Regions from separate parts of the Homo sapiens genome. Here region 1 is linked to region 2. The links are contacts of gene promoters, found by promoter capture Hi-C in human tissues and cell types (Jung and others, 2019). All regions are on one chromosome and are shown on one strand. Each heading gives the region's core, a stretch centred on a gene start or on the middle of the fragment in contact. The rest is flanking DNA. Distances are from core to core; before and after follow the strand shown.

Evidence for each region. The method cuts DNA at HindIII sites, captures the fragments that hold promoters and counts their contacts. A contact is called where the count stands out against the background at its distance.
Region 1: a fragment that was not itself captured here is called in contact with the fragment with the promoter of TAX1BP3 in region 2 in 1 of the 25 tissues and cell types used here (dorsolateral prefrontal cortex).

Annotation. Positions count from the first base shown.
Region 1 is chr17:2,404,983-2,407,682 of GRCh38, reverse strand. It overlaps LOC284009 (a long non-coding RNA gene), which reads left to right. Exons shown (of 3, transcript NR_028335.1): 3 at 453-702. Among named protein-coding and RNA genes, the nearest start is that of MNT, 5.3 kb to the right of the region's middle. The HindIII fragment of the contact is 5,447 bases long and covers 1-2,700 here.
Region 2 is chr17:3,667,287-3,669,986 of GRCh38, reverse strand. TAX1BP3 (Tax1 binding protein 3) reads left to right here and starts at 1,409. Exons shown (of 4, transcript NM_014604.4): 1 at 1,409-1,499. The coding sequence starts at 1,461. EMC6 (ER membrane protein complex subunit 6) reads right to left here and starts at 1,175. Exons shown (of 2, transcript NM_031298.4): 1 at 1,088-1,175; 2 at 322-889. The coding sequence starts at 840. The coding sequence ends at 508. It overlaps P2RX5-TAX1BP3 (P2RX5-TAX1BP3 readthrough (NMD candidate)), which reads left to right. Exons shown (of 15, transcript NR_037928.1): 12 at 1-929. RefSeq lists enhancers at 1-489, 490-1,020, 1,553-2,083, 2,084-2,615 and a silencer at 1,122-1,461. The HindIII fragment of the contact is 19,427 bases long and covers 1-2,700 here.

The DNA.
Region 1 (2,700 bases), core at 174-2,673, 1.3 Mb after region 2:
GTGTCCTTTCCCAGTGGGCCCTGGGGCCTTGGGGAGAGATCTCATAGTGCACCTGGAGCTGAGCCCTGGCTCTGTGGTATCTGCTCTGGGCTGTGCAGCCAGTGACCGGCCACTGCTCTCGGCCTTGCCTCCAGAGAGAGCCTCATTCCTGGCATAGGCTGCTGATCTCTTGGGCTTTCAAGACTTGATGCTACAGCCTTGCATTTGGGTGTGAACTGGGGCTGCTGGGATATAGACCTTAGTCCTTTGTGTGGGGCACTGATCACATTGCAGCCCGTCGGTCCTGGGAGGTTTCTTCCCTATCACCATGTCCCCACCCCTGCGTGATCCAGCGGACTCTTGACTCCCATGGCAAGACTCCACCCGGCTTTACTCATAACTTCTGCCCAGTCCCACTCCCTTGACCTGAATTAGTTTTGCTGTCATAAAGCCACCTCTTTTTTCCTTTAAAGGAATCCCTGACATCGTCATCCGTCTCCTGTGCCTTTCCGCTGGGTCAGCCTCCTCCCACCAAGCTTCTGACCCACTGTCATCCGCAGCTGCCACTCTAGCTGCAGAGCTCGACTGGGCTCTGGTTTCTCAGAAGAGCTCAGAGGACCTGGCTCCTCCCTCTTTGCTTCTGAACTGCATTTCTTTCCTTATTACTCAGTGTCCACACCCACGGTGGCTGCCTGGATAAAAATCTGCCCCTTTCTCCCGTCACCTTTCATGCCAGACAAAAGCCCCAGTGAGTAATGGTGACCTACCCAGGTCCAGCTAGCAGCTCTCCATTCCTGAGTGGCCTGGGGCAGAACAGGGTCCTGCGAGCTCCTGGATCCCAAGTCTGATTCCCTTTCCCTGTCTTCCCGCTTATCTGCTAAGCTTGTTTATTGGGGACCACTAAGCAAAGTGAATGATTATTCCTGTCTTTAACGAGGAGGGGTGGAGTTCCCTCTCCATCTTCACCCACTTCTGGGAGGCTTTCAGGGACTCAACACCCCACACTGATAGCACTTCCCCAGGCCTGGCCCAGCCAGCCAAAGAGGAGGACCAGGCCACTTCTCAACCTAGCTGATGCTTGGCAGCTTTGTGACCTTGGATACACCTTCTCTTGGGAGGTCAGACCCCATGATCCCAGCTCTTCCAGCTATGACATCATGTGAGGCTGCAATTTTTTTTTTTTTTTTTTTGAGACAGTATCTTGCTATGTTGCCCAGGCTGGCCTTGAAATCCTGGGCTCAGGCGATTCTCCTGTCTCAGCCTCCCACGTAGCTGGAACTTAGGGCGTGAGCCACCGCGCCCAGCTTCTGGAAAGGACATGAATGGGGAGGTGGAACTTGATTGGACCTGTTCTGTGAGTTCAGGAGAGGTCCTCTGACAACTCACTTGGGGTGGGGAAAGGAGGTAAAGAGTCCTGTGGAAACTTTTGGCTGTGGGGACCCCATTTCACTGATGATTGAATGGGTCCACCTCTGTCAAAGGAATTCAGAGTCCCACTCATCATTCAGACTGGGGGAATCAGGCTCAGTTGACTGGCCCAGCCTTAAATCCACTGAATTTGTTTTTATCTCTACATAGAAAAACGGAATTACAGTTGCTTCTCACTGTCCAATGGGGATTGGTTCCTGGAGCCTCCCTGAATACCTGTCCATGGATGATGCTCAAATCCCTTACATGTAACCTATGCACATCCTCAGGTATCCTTTAACTCATCTCTGCGCTACTCAAATACCTCATACCATGTAAATGCTGTGTAAATAGTTCTTGTGCTGTGTTGGTTTTTAAATTTGTATTATTTTTTCTTGTATATTTTCCATTTTTTTTTCCTGAATATTTTTGATCCACGGTTAGTTGCCTCCATGGGTGCGGACCCACGGACACGGAGGCTGCACCTTCTGAAATGAGCATGGCGGCGCCCTCTGGGTCCTCGTGTCGTCCTGTCTCTGGTGCTGCATCCAGCACGGTGGCGAACAGCAGAACTAATCTTTTGCAAGTTATCACAGTGGAGTGGAGTTCCGCTCTGTTTGCTTTTGCCCCGCTCTGGCTTACCAGAGGTCCCCTGGCCTTGGCCACAGCATACCTAGCCTAGTGCTTGGCACCTCAGGCACACAATAAATATTTATGAAATGGATCTTCTCTGGTATGTCTTGAGTGTACTAGTCTTCTGTTTTTTCCTCTTCATCCTGCAGCCAGCTTCCTCCCATGGGTCTTGTTTTAATGATGGTATGTGAAAAGCTCCTTAGCTGCTTGCAAAAGATGAGACATCAGGCTTGAAGGGTTGGGATTTCCTGTGAACATCTGTACTTTCGGCTTCACGCCCTTTCCCCCATCTCATGACTCAGGCTTTGTAGGAGTCAGGGCACTGATTTTCATAGCTCTTGGAGTTGATACTTTGTTAGGTGAGTGGTGGGGGATAGGAAGACAGTTCCACTAAGGGGATGTCTCTGGCTCAGCATATTAAAAAATTGGGGAATTGGTGCTTCTTATTGTGGTTGGTGAAAAAAAGAATAAAAGATTAAAAAATTGGAGGACATAATGGAATTTGAACTGGGAGGTGGGGTGCACAAGACTCGGGGAGGAAGACTGAAAACGGAAACCCTCTCGTGAGAAACTCACAATGATGGACAGCCCAGCTTTTCTCCTGCTCCAAGGTACTAAGCACCCAGAAGCCATGAAGAAACTTAAGGAACAGCCGGGCGCGGTGGCTCACGCCTGTCATCC
Region 2 (2,700 bases), core at 160-2,659:
CCATGTTGGCCAGGTTGGTCTTGAACTCCTGACCTCAGGTGATCCGCCCACCTCGGCCTCCCAAAGTGCTGGGATTACAGACATGAGCCACCGTGCCCGGCCCAGGGAGCTCTTAATACATATTAACTGTTACTGCTTCTTAGGATGTTAATAAGTTCTTTCCTTATGTAGGCCCTTAGGGCCCGTTTCTGAATGGCCTATGTGTAAATACAAGGACTTAACACAAGGCTATGGCCCATTCCTTGCTCTCCAGGAGTCAAATCTCGGCGATTTTGCATCAGTGGCAGCCTAAGCGTTACAGCAGGAAAGAACTCCACAAAGTGTCTCACGCTTCATTTAATCTGAAGAATATTACAGGCTCTCCGTCTTCAGATATAAATTATTTATAACGTTACAGAACAAGCAGCGAATTCAACCACTTAAGAACTAAGGAAGTCTACATGGTGTTAATTGCTGGCCACAGTCCTCCCGATCTGGTTTTTTAAAAAAGTCCCCCGGGCCCCCATTTCAGTAGACGTGCACCATGCCGTAGAGGAACGTCCAGAACAGGACGTAGGTGAAGAGGCCCCCGATGAGGCCTCCTGTAAAGAGAGGTCTCCGTGATTTGAAATATTTGTTCCACCTCCTTCCCGCCTTGAGAATGAGGAGCAGGGAGAGCAGGACGGAGGCGAGCAGGTAGAAGATGAAGCCGTAGAGGCCGGTGAGGCCGAGGATGCCGGCCGTGGCCCCCGACAGCGCTGACACCGAGGTCCGGCAATAATCCAGGACGGCGGCGTTGCCCCGCACGGCCGCCTCGCTGATGAACGGCGGCCCTTCCCGCTTGGCCACCACCGCGGCCATCGCACCAGCCCGGGCTCGGCCTCTCGCTTTCTCGCGGAACAACGCGGAGCTGCGGAGAAAACCAAGTTACAAGTGGCGCCCGGAGCTCGGTGAGTTGGGTTCACGCCGCCCCCTCCCCCTGGAGCTTCCGAGACCTGGCACCAGTCCTGGGCCTCGGATCTTCCAAAGACGCCGAGGAGATTGAGGGTCCGGGCCGGCCGGGAGGTGGTGGCGCGTCTGCGTTCCCCGGCCACGGTGGCCCAGTTACCTGGAACACGGCGCCGGACACACTACTTAGCGTTCCCTCAGACGGGCAGTGGAAGAAATGCCCGCGGCGCCATCTTGCTCGGAAGACTGCCGGGAGGTCTCGGGCTGCGCACGCGCCCAGATCCCGCCCCGCCCTCCGCGCCTGCGCCGTGGGCGCCCCGGACACGCTCCGCCCTCTGCCCGCTTTTCTGCGCACGCGCAGGGACTTCCGAAAGCGGAGTGGCGCTCCGGCCAGTGATTGGCTGGAGGTTTGTTAACTATTCATGAGGGGGCGGGCCGAGCGGGGCGGCCTTTGTTAAGCAGCGAGGGCGCGACCGCGGGTACTCTGCTGCCGGCTTCTCGGAGCGGCGCTGGGCGACCAGAGCAGGGTCGAGATGTCCTACATCCCGGGCCAGCCGGTCACCGCCGTGGTGGTGAGTGCGCTTGCGCGGGCTCCTCCTCGTCTTGGCCTGACCCCACCTCGCAGAGCGGGAAACGGACACCCCAAGCAGGTTGACAGAGCATCGAACCCGGGGCTCCTGCGAACCGGCGGCAAGGGCTCGGGTCCCCGCTTTGCCGGAGCGGGCCGCAGTTCCCCCAGCCACGAAACAGGGATGGCCGGGACCCGAGAGCCTCCCGAGACCCTGGACAGAGCCCAGACTGCGTGCGCAGGGCGGGGAGGGCCACGGGGAAAGGCCTGGCTGCAGGAGCCTGGAAAAGCGCCCCCTTCCCGGGCCTCCGTGTCCCCAGACGGGGAGCTGCTGGGGGCGGGCGCCGATCCCGACGTCCATGAGTCGCAGCCTCTGGAATGAGGAAATGCTTCCTCCGCTGCAGCCTGCGCCGCCGCCCGGAGGGAGATCTGGGGGTGGGGCTCTCCCGAGCCTGCCGTGGCAGCCCCTGCCCCCTTCCTGTCCAGCCTTGCTCCTCCAACCCACTCGCCGCCTGGTCCAGGGTGGACGCTCGTATAGCTGCGATGAGCGTTTCCTCTTCGAACTTTTCCTGGGTCTCCAGCCCTTAAGGCAAAAAAGTCCAGGCCTCCCTCCTGGCACTTGAGTCCTGAGTAGACCCTCCGGGGGCTAGCCTAGGCCCCTGGCCGCCCTCTGGCTTGTTTTAGGTGCTGGGTGCTATTAGACTAGGCAGAGGGAGGAAGGAAGGCTGGGACGTTAGACTCAGACGCCGGTGTCACAGAGGGACACAACCCTATGACAGAGGTGGGGAGTCCCAGAGAGAAGTGCTCAGCCAGAAAAGACCACCTCAGGAAAGACTCAGGTCTCCTGCCTACCTCCCGACAGCGTTCAGAGAATGAGAAGAAATGCCTGCCCGGTGGGCAGTAGGTCAAGCGAAAGTCCCCGCCCTGGAGCCATAGGGACTGGGTGTGTTATCTCAGTTGGGTGTGCTGGAGAAGCTCCAGCAATCAGGTGGGTGGAGGCAGAGAAGCCACTGATAAAGGCGACAAGTGAGGCTGAGCTTAGAGCACTGGCTCAGGCCTGGGCCAGGAGGAAACATTGCTGGACCAGCTGACAGCTGTCCTAAGCTTCACCCTCCCTGCACCAGCTTGACTTTTTTTTTTTTTTTTTTTTTGAGACAGTCTTGCTCTGTCGCCCAGGCTGGAGTACAGTGGCGCGATCTCGGTTC